Regions from separate parts of the Homo sapiens genome. Here region 1 is linked to region 2. Evidence: promoter capture Hi-C in human tissues and cell types (Jung and others, 2019). All regions are on one chromosome and are shown on one strand. Each heading gives the region's core, a stretch centred on a gene start or on the middle of the fragment in contact. The rest is flanking DNA. Distances are from core to core; before and after follow the strand shown.

Region 1 (5,513 bases), core at 2,780-5,279, 42 kb after region 2:
GGCAGGGGTTATCTATAAACCTGCACGCAGGGCACTGTGAGCGGGTTGCCAGGGTACATCTGTGGCCAGGTAAGGGCCACAGAGACAGTCGTGATCCCCAGCAGCTTCAAAGCTGCAAAATGCTGGGCTTTTTTTTTTTTTTTTAAGATGAAGTCTTGCTCTGTTGCCTAGGCTGGAGTGCAGTGGCGTGATCTCGGCTCACCGCAACCTCCACCTCCCAGGTTCAAGCAATTCTCCTGCCTCAGCCTCCTGAGTAGCTGGACTACAGGCACCCACCACCATGCCTGACTAATTTTTGTATTTTTAGTAGAGACGGGGGTTTCACCATGTTGGCCAGGCTGGTCTTGAACTCCTGACCTCAGGTGATCCATACTCCTCGGCCTCCCAAAGCGCTGGGATTACAGGCATCAGCCACTGCGCCTGGCCTAGGGCTTTCTTTTTTAAAAAACAAGTCCTAACAAAAGGGGGTTTCTACCAGCCCCTGAGCCACACCTTCTGAAACTCCCTTGCCCAGGATCCCCACAGCTGTCCACCTCGCAAGTCCCACTCTCTGCCCACAGAGACTGCCTAAAAGGAGGACACAACAGATTTCAGATAAAAAGCACCTGTGTATCGTAAATATTTCAGGAAAAAGAATTCAGATCTTTTCAAAGGCTTGCTTATTGCTGCTAATTGTTCCTGAGGATCTTTCTAAGCAGCAATATACTTGAGAATATTAGCTGCTACTGTTTGTTTTCCCTCTAAGGTCCTGAGGAAATCAAAAGAAAAAAAAAAAAACCCTCAAGGGTATAGCTTTTGTATATAGCCCTAGTGAGCAAACTGCAAATTGGGACATGCAGTAGATTCTGGAGCAATCTCCAATCCTTACCAGGTACTTCCTGGCATCAAATCCCCAGGACATTTCTTGGCCCCTCCTTGCATTTTCCGTTTCAAAATGTTGAGGTTAAAATACATCGAAGCACAGAGGGAAGAAAATCTCAGGTCTTCTAGAAATGGCGATGTCTTCATTTAAAAATAGGACTGATGGGGGCTTGGCAGGGGTCTCTAGGATCCAAAAGAGGTTGAGTTGCATCCTGCAGCCCAACTGTCCACATTTAGAAGTGACAACATTCATGAACTAAGTCAACATCCACCAAAAATAACATGAAATAAAGCTCACAGTTTGGGAACATGAAAATAACGCACACAGACCTCACCCACCAATCCCTAAGCTGTGAAAACAAACGCTCGCATTTAAACTTTTCTCAAATGTCAAATTAGCATATTCTTCCCCTCCATGTAAAGTTTTAATAAACTTGACTCAATCTGCCTTTATTAAAAAACCTTACAAAAGATGTATTTAAATGCTTGAAAAAATTAACTTTATGCTCTATGCACAGATAAATTTCTCTTACTGTACAACTAAATATGGTTATATCCTTTGTTTAAAAAATATTTTTTCCCCCACTAATTACACTTCGTGTGTAGTTCCACGTCAATGATCTTTCCGCTCTTCTGGGAATGTGTCCTAAGAGCTGCCGGGTGGGTGGAAATAGCCCTACACAGCGCCACTTTCTTGCTCAGTCGTGTTTATTAAGATTGTTTGGGGTTTGGGGTTTTTTTCCTCCGTTTTCGTTTTCTGAGACAGCGTGCTGGTAACTGTGGACCCGCCCGGCCGGCTGACCTTCACTTGTCCTTGGAGCGGTCCAGGCTCTCGAGCACCCGGTTGAGACGGATGTTGAGCAGTCTGACCTGCTTCTCCAGGTGCTCCAGCTTCTCCTCCACGCTGGGGTTGCTGGGGTTGCTGGGGCCGCTGGGACTGCTTCGCCAGTAGAAGCCCATGGGCCCGGTCATGAAGTAGACGGCCACCACGAAGCACAGCGGCAGCACCGCGTTCTCCGGCTCGCCCTCGTACTTGTGCAGGATGTACACGCAGGACATGGAAAACAGGACGACCCGCACGATCCAGAAGAAGCGGCCGAACACCACGTGCAGGACGCTGAAAGTGAAGCCCAGGGTCAGGGACAAGAACCAGTAGGCCAGGAGGACGACGCCGACCAGCAGGAGCGCGCGGGCCGGGCTGCTGGACACCGAGGCTGGGCTGAAATACTGGGACAGGTTGGAGACTGCGGGACAGAAAAGAGGAACAGGGCTCGTTACGCAGGGGCCAGGGGTTTCTTAACAAGCTAGAATTGGATAGTTGAGCTGGCCTGTGGGGCTTAAAAGGCCTTTGCAACAACCAAAGGAACTCAAGGAAGTTCCTCTGTGAATAGTCACACTTTGCTCCATGAGGACACACAGGGAAGCCTCTTTTTTTTGAGATGGAGTCTTGCTCTGTTGCCCAGGCTGGAGTGCAATGGTGTGATCTCGGCTCACCACAACCTCCGCCTCCTGGGTTCAAGCAATTCTCCTGTCTCAGCCTCCGGGGTAGCTGGGATTACAGGCATGCGCCACCACACCCGGCTAATTTTGTATCTTTAGTAGAGACGGGGTTTCTCCATGTTAATCAGGCTGGTCTCGAACTCCTGACCTCAGGTGATCCACCTGCCTCGGCCTCCCAAAGTGCTGGGATTACAGGCATGAGCCACCATGCCCAGCCAGGGAAGCCCTTTAAGACGACCTGCCATGTTGAGTTTTAAAAACCTCTCCATATACTGGTTTCTCTTCAAATCATATACATCTTTCACCTTTAGCCTGGGCAACATAGTGAGACCCTGATATGGACTGGCTCTGTGCTCCCACACAAATCTCATCTTGAATTATAATCCTCACGTGTGGAGGAAGGAACCTCGTGGGGGGTGATTGGATCATGGGGGTGGTTTCCCCATGCTGTTCTTGTGACAGTGGAGGGGGGGGGGTTTCATGAGATCTGATGGTTTAAGTGTTTGGCAGCTGCCCCCTTTGCTCTCTCTTTCTCTCCTGCTGCCTTGTGAAGAAGGTGCTTGCTTCTCCTTTGCCTTCTGCCATGATTATAAGTTTCCTGAGCCACGCAGAACTGTGAGTCAATTAAACCTCTTTTATTTATGCATTACCTAGTCTCAGGTTTTTTGGTTTTTTTGTTTGTGTTTTTGAGGTTGGAGTGCAGTGGCACAATCTTGGCTCGTTGCAACCTCTGCATCCCAGGTTCAAGCAATTCTCCTGCCTCAGTCTCCCAAGTAGCTGGGATTATAGGCACATGCCACCACACCCAGCTGATTTTTGTATTTTTAGTAGAGATGAGGTTTCACCATGTTGGCCAGGCTGGTCTTGAACTAGTGTCCTCAAGTGATCCACCTCCTCAGCCTCCCAAAGTGCTGGGATTACAAGTGTGAGCCACTGCGCCTGGCCTCGGGTATGTTTTGATAGCAGTGTGAAAATAGACTAATACAGACCCAATCTCTAGAGAACACAAATTTTAAAAAAATTAGACAGGTGTGGTAGCACACACCTGTAGTCCCAGCTACTCAGGAGGCTGAGGTGGGAGGATCACTTGAGGCTGGGAGGTAGAGGCTGCAGTGAGCCATAATGTGCCACTGCACTCCAGCCTGTGTGACAGAGTAAGACTTTGTCTCAAAAGACAACTTTCACCTTTTACTAAAACACCTCTGGAAGTGGGGCATAGCCTGCAAATTGTCCTTCAATTTCCATAGTAACAAATGCCCACCTTCAGGCTGGGCACACAACTACCTAGGATTAAAGCATTTCCTAGCCTCTCTTGCAGCTACATAACTAAGCTTTGGCCATGTGTTCCCTAAAAGTAGCAGGAATGTGTCCTTTACCTCTTCTGCCTGCTGGAACATGGATACAATGGCTGGAACTGGAGCAGCCATTTTGGAAGGCACTCATGGAGGAACAATAAAATGGAAGGTGCTTTGGTCCAGAGCACCACATGCATCAGAGCCATCAAACCCGCCTCACCACCTCCCTGAGAACTTTCATATAAGAGGGAAATAGGTGTCCATCTTGGTTAAGCCAATGTTATGTTGGATTTCTGTTTCAGCCAAACCTGATCCTAACTGGTACCCACACACGAAGTTCCATCTCAAGAATGCAGTGAAATGTAAGAGTAGCATCTTCTGTGTGCCTGACTTGAAGAAATTCAAACAAAAAAGTTAAAAGAACAGTAGAATATTCCTTTTGAAACCAACTAGACTGAACAATTATTAAAAATTCTGAATGTTGCATTCTCTATTTACATACTTTTTAGATTAACCCATTTGAAAGATGTACACATCATACTTCATCATACATCTAAGAATAAAGACATCATTCACCTCAAAACCATGATACTATCATCATTCTAAGAATATTAACAATTCCAGGCTGGGCACGGTGGCTCATGCCAGCATTTGGGAGGCCAAGGTGGGTGGATCACCTGAGATCAGGAGTTTGAGACCAGCCTGGCCAACATGGTGAAACCCCATCTCTACTAAAAATATAAAAATTAGCTGGGCGTGGTGGCGCACACCTGTAATCCAAGCTACCTGGGAGGCTGAGGCACGAGAATCGCTTGAACCCAGGGAGGCAGAGGTTGCAGTGAGCCAATGGCGCCACTGCACTCCAACCTGAGACACAGTGAGGCTCTGTCTCAAAAAATAAATAAATAAATAAATAAATAATAAATTAACAATTCCATATAACATCACTTGAATTTCTCAGTTATCCAGGAATAGCTGTTTCCTCCCAACCCTCACCAGGACCCAGCGACAGTTCACGTTCAGCATTTGCCATCACTTTAGTCTCCATTAATTGAGAAGAGACCCATGACATTTTAGAAACACTGAAATTCTGAAGTCTAATTTTTCCAGGATGGTTTTCTTGCAGGAGGTCCCACATGCTGCAATTGTTTGTTTCCTGACAGTGTTGTTTAATGAGTTCAAGGAGAGTTATATCCTAAGCCTTCTCACACAAGCAGTTCTCAAACTTGTGTGATTCCTCCAGGAATCCCCTGGAGGGCTTAGGAAAACAGGTTGCTGGGCCCCACCCCCAGGACATCTGATTCAGTAGGTCCTGGGTGGGCCCAAGAATCTGTGGTCTTTTTTTTTTTTTTTTTTTTTTAAGACAGGGTCTTTTTCTGTCACCCAGGCTGGAGTGTGATGGTGTGATCTCGGCTCACTGCAGCCTTGACCTTTTGGGCTCAAGCGATCCTCCCACCTCAGACTCCCGAGTAGCTAGGACTATAGGCATGCACCACCACAGCTGGCTAATTTTTGTATTTTTTTGTAGAGACAGTGAAGTGGTTTGGTTCTGTGTTCTCACCCAAATCTAATTTCAAATTGTAATCCCCACGTGTCCAGGGAGGGACCTGGTAGGAGGTGATTGGATCGTGGAGGTGGTTTCCTCCATGCTATTCTCATGAAAGTGAGTGAGTCTCACGAGATCTGATGGTTTAAAAGTGTTTGGCAGTTTACCCCTCGCTCTTGCTTCCTCTCTCCTGCCACCACGTAAGACGTGCCTTGCTTCCCCTTTGCCTTCCGCCATGATTACAAGTTTCCTGAGGCCTCCCCAGCCATGTGGAACTGTGAGTCAATTAAATCTCTTTTATTTATAAATTA
Region 2 (5,165 bases), core at 1,049-3,548:
GTGAAACCCCGTCTCTACTAAAAATACAAAAATTAGCCGGGCATAGTGGCAGGCACCTGTAATCCCAGCTACTCGGGAGGCTGAGGCAGGAGAACTGCGTGAACCCAGGAGGCAGAGGTTGCAATGAGCCGAGATTGCGCCGTCGCACTCCAGCCTGGGGGAGAAAAGCGAGGCTTAAAAAAAAAAAAAATCCAGATAGTCAGATTACAAATCCCTTCTCTTCAACACTTCCCACGGAGGAAGGTGGTTTCACCCATCTAATAGGGCTGCCCGATCTGAAATTATTTCATAACATCAGGGCTAGACAGGCACCAGACCAGCATTCTGTTATTGCTGGCAGAGGAAACAGATGGAATCAAGGCAAGGTGACACAGAGGAAGAACATAATCCCACATGGCAGCCTCCTGCTTCTTCCAGGAGTCTCCAGGCTGCCCTAATCCAACACATACTCATTTACCAACTGCTGTCCAGAAGCCCCTGGGGCAACAGACTACACCTGTCTCCAAGGGAGAGGAAGGGAAGGAGAGGAACAGCTCTGGGTTAGCCTAGGAAAATGACTCTGTGGAAGCTCCCCACTGCTGTGGAGGGCCTGGAAGCTGCCAGGCAGCCGTCTGCAATTTTGTGGTCAACAAGGAACCACTGAGAACTTCTGAGCCAAGGAGTGACAAAGTAAGACCTGTATGCTTCAAGATTACTCTGGCAAAGCAAGCAGGATGCAAATGGATGGAAAAGCAGGAAGCAGGAAAACCAACCACTGTTTGGTGAGGAGGAAAGGAGGCCCCAGAACCCCTGACAAGGGGCTGCAAAGGAGGAGATGTGAGCGACATGGGGCTGTGGCAGAAGACTTCTGGTGCCACAGGTGACTGGGGTGTCCATCCCTGTGAGCCTGAGCAAGAACAGTGACGCCACCAACAGAAACAAGGGAGTCCCTGCGCCAGCGGAGGGGGTGAGGAGGGGAGACCATGAGTTAAAAATCCCCTAGGAGGCCAGGCGCCGTGGCTCACACCTGTAATCCCAGCACTTTGGGAGGCCAAGGCGATCGGATCACCTGAGGTCAGGAGTTCGAGACCAGCCTGACCAACATGGAGAAACTCCGTCTCTACTAAAAATACAAAATTAGCCAGGCGTGGTGGTGTATGCCTGTAATCCCAGCTACTCGGGAGGCTGAGGCAGGAGAATCACTTGAACCCGGGAGGCGGAGGTTGCAGTGTGCCGAGATCTCGCCATTGCACTCCAGCCTGGGCAACGAGAGAGAAACTGTCTCAAAAAAAAAAAAAAAAAATCCCCTAGGAATACCTAGGGGAGGCAGGGTGGAGGGGTGGAGCTGGTAGTTGGGCAAGCCAGCTAGAGCTCAGGAAGAGCACCCGGAGCGGTTACCCCACGGAGAAGGAGCCTTTGCCCCACCCGCACCGAGAGAGGCAGTTTCTGAGGTTCAAGGTGATGGGTGGAAAGAGAGTCTTTTACTAGGTTCTGTTTGGGGGCTGGGAGTGTAGACACGTGGACAGGGCCTCCTGCCTGACCATCCTGCTAGGTGCTGGCCTCCAGCAGGGGCAGCTGGAGATGAGGGAGGTCAGGGGGACAGAGTGCACGGCACTGGGGACTGGCAAGGGACCCCCACAAACAGAGGAAGAGCTGCAAGTCAAAAAGGCCCTATGTCCGGGGGAAGCCCCCACAGGCCGGAGGTCAAGACTCCAGGGAGCACCTCACAGGTAGGAAAGCCTAGCAAGGGGTCACACGGTCAACAGGCAGCTGGCCCTCCCGAGGGGTGACACTCCCGGGGAGAGGGTGACCCCCACATGCAGAGGAGACGCTGCAGAGTCAGGAAGTGCCAGGAGGTGCTGTGGAGGGGTGATGTTCCCCAAGACTGGGGGGAACCCCGCAGTCAGAAGGCCTCCCCGCCATCAAGTGGCTCCTCCAGCCCCAGAAGCGTGAAACTAGCCATGGGGAGACCACCCAACCACCCTGCACGGCTCCCGCCCATCCCCCGCAGGCCCGGCCGCGCGCCCGACTCTCACCCAGCGCCAGGCCGCAGGCGGCGCCCACAGCCGCCCGGAAGCGGTCCATCTGCGTGTTCTTCTTACTGTCAGGCTCCCACATCACCTGGCACTCCAGGATCTCCTCCCGACCGGGGCGCTCCTCCTTGGACATGGCGGCGGCGGGCGGCCGGGGCTGCGACGAGGGCTGGGGACCAGGGGCCGGGGCTGAGGCGAGGGCCGGGGACCTGGGACCGGAGGAAGCGACGGTCAGGAGCGCCTGGCGGGCTGGGTCAGCGACGGCGGCGGCGGGGAACAAGGGACTGAACGGCCGCCGCCGCCTCCTGCGGGCCGCTTGGCCCAGGCCCCGCCCCGCAGGCCCCGCCTCGAATCCCCGCCCCCTTCCAGGCCCCGCCCTCCCGCCTGTAACCCTCCGCTGAGTGCAGCGCCGCTCAAAGGAGTGCTCGCAGCCGCCGGCTCCAGCGCCCGCGGCCGGGGGGCGTGGGGGTGAGGGGCGCTCACGAGCCTTGGCCCCAGCTCCCCGACCTCACCTGGAGCTGGAGGGCGTTAGGGCAGCCGGAGAAGCCAGGCGTCCGAGCCCGCTGTTTCCTACACGTGTACATCATTCATTCGCTATTTCTTCCTGCAGGTCTTTACTGAGAGCCTGCGGCATTCGGAGGACTTTGGGAGCTTTGCGGATACAGCAGCGAACAAAACAAAATTCTTGTTCTCTGTCAACAGGAGAGGAGGGGTACAGGTGTGAGGAAGACGGGAGACGATTAACAAATAAGTACATCGTGTACATACACAAGATAATGTCATAGTATAATACAATAATATACATAGTATGCCAATGGGTATCAAAATACACATTTGTGAAAGGAAAATAAATCTTGGGGCCCCACTACTAAGCTAAAGGGAAAAGAAAAGCTGGGAACTGCTTAGGGCTAACCTGCCTCCATTCTATTCAAAGTCACCCCTCTGCTGAGTTAAATGCACACCTGATTGCCTCCTTTGCAGAGGCTAATTGAAAACTCAAAAGAATGCAGCCATTTGTCCCTTATCTACCTATGACCTGGAAGGCCCCCTCCCCGCCTTAGCTTTTTTTTTTTTTTTGAGTCTCACTCAGTCGCCCAGGCTGGAGTGCAATGTCCCAATCTCAGCTCACTGTAACCTCTGCTTCCCAGGTTCAAGCGATTCTCCTGCCTCAGCCTCCTGAGTAGCTGGGATTACAGGCACACGCCATCATGCCCAGCTAATTTTTCGTGTTTTTTTTTTTGTTGTTGTTGTTGTTTGTTTTGTTTTTTTGAGACGAAGTTTCGCTCTTGTTACCCAGGCTGGAGTGCAATTGCGAGATCTCGGCACACGGCAACCTCCATCTCCCAGGTTAAAGCAATTCTCCTGCCTCAGCCTCTCGAGTACCTGGGATTACAGGCATGTGCCACCACGCCTGGCTAATTTTGTATTTTTAGTACAGACAGGGTTTTTCCATGTTGGTCAGGCTGGTCTCCAACTCCCGGCCTCAGGTGATCCGCCCGCCTCAGCCTCCCAAAGTGCTGGAATTACAGGCGTGAGCTACCGAGCCCGGCTCATTTTTGCATTTTTGTAGAGACGGGATTTCACCATGTTGGCCAGGCTGGTCTTGAAGTCCTGACCTCAGGTGATCCACCCGCCTCGGCCTCCCAAAGTGCTGGGATTACAAGAGTGAGCCCAGGTCTGAGAGCACCCCCTCCAGAGCCTCCCTGATCTCCCAAAATTTGGTGGAGATCTAAAGTTTATTTTGCTGTACAACTCTTTTCTTTGCAGTTTTACTTGCTTCCAACAAGGAAGGCAAGGTTTCCTGCTTCCATGACAATGGAAGGCAGGTAACTCCTTTATGGAGTTTGAGCTCGCTTCCAACAGGGAAGATGAGGTCTTTTTTCCTGCTTCTAGAATGGTAGAGAGCAGTCTACAGCCTAAGACCCATCCCTAGGTAAGTAACTGAATTGGGGTTTGTCTTGGCTAAAGTTAAGGTTAACAGCCAGCTGGTCTTAATGTCAGAGGCATTTGAACCAGAGCAACTCCATCTTGAGTGGGGGCTGGGTAAAATGAGGCTGAGATCTACTAGGCTCCATTCCCAGACAGTGAAGGCATTCTAAGTCACAGGATGAGACAGGAGGTCGGCACAAAATACAAGTCATAAACACCTTGCTGATAAAACACGCTGCAGTAAAAAAGCCGGCTAAATCCTACCAAAACCAAGGTGGTGATGAGAGTGACCTCTGCTTGACTTCACTACTACACTCCCATCAGCACCATGACAGTTTACAAATGCCATGGCAATGTCAGGAAGTTACTCTATATGGTCTAAAAAGGGGAGGCATGAATAGTCCACCCCTTGTTTAGCATATCATCAAGAAATAACCATGAGAATGGGCAACCAGCACCCCTCAGGGTGCTCTGTCTATGGAGTAGCCATCTTTTTATTCCTCTACTTTCCTAAGGAACTTGCATTTGCTTTAGTCTGTAGACTCGCCTTGAATTCTTTATTGCGTGAGATCCAAAAACCCTCTCTTGGGGTCTGGATCGGGACCGCTTTCCTCTAACATTAATTTATCCTTACCATTAGAGCGTGCTCAGTGATCATATAAGTTGTGCCATTTTTTGTTTGGCTTAAATGCTTTTTTGGTTGCTTGTTTGTCTCTGTTTTTGTTGTTGCTTTGGTCTTTTCCCATTGGGTTTGATCAACTATATCTGACTTGATCAAATCAAAAGGAAAGTTCCAAATTGCTGGGAACAAGGACTGTAAAGTGGCTAAATTCACACACACACACACACACACACACACACACACACACACACACGTGGCCTGGTAGGGGGAAAAAACAACCAGCAAAAGAAAAAAATTAAAAGAGGAAAGATGTTTGATTTTAACTACTAAAGGGGCTTTATTTACATAAGGCCACCTTTTTGCTAGCCAGGCCAAAGTGAAAGCAATGGCTGTTGCCCCAAGCTGCAGTTCCATAGCTAAGGCTCTGCCTGCTTTTTCTAACCACGACAGCCTAGATTTAGTTCCTAAATCAAGTCCTTTCTGGTTTGCTACTTGGTACTTCTGAAATAGCAGCAATTTGTCCTAACAGAAATATAGTAATGAGATTTTAAAAAGATTTTTTTAAAGGAGCTCAATGGTTAAAAGTCAGCTTCATTAAAAGC

The links. The method cuts DNA at HindIII sites, captures the fragments that hold promoters and counts their contacts. A contact is called where the count stands out against the background at its distance.
Region 1: a fragment that was not itself captured here is called in contact with the fragment with the promoter of AACS in region 2 in 1 of the 25 tissues and cell types used here (lymphoblastoid cells).

The regions. Positions count from the first base shown.
Region 1 is chr12:125,021,583-125,027,095 of GRCh38, reverse strand. It overlaps BRI3BP (BRI3 binding protein), which reads right to left. Exons shown (of 3, transcript NM_080626.6): 3 at 1-2,105. The coding sequence ends at 1,666. THRIL (TNF and HNRNPL related immunoregulatory long non-coding RNA) reads left to right here. Exons shown (of 1, transcript NR_110375.1): 1 at 1-1,653. Among named protein-coding and RNA genes, the nearest start is that of THRIL, 3.1 kb to the left of the region's middle. The HindIII fragment of the contact is 6,522 bases long and covers 769-5,513 here.
Region 2 is chr12:125,062,568-125,067,732 of GRCh38, reverse strand. AACS (acetoacetyl-CoA synthetase) reads right to left here and starts at 2,298. Exons shown (of 18, transcript NM_023928.5): 1 at 2,016-2,298. The coding sequence starts at 2,148. LOC105370052 (a long non-coding RNA gene) reads left to right here. Exons shown (of 4, transcript XR_001749365.2): 3 at 2,623-2,730. RefSeq lists a silencer at 2,038-2,657. The HindIII fragment of the contact is 13,528 bases long and covers 1-5,165 here.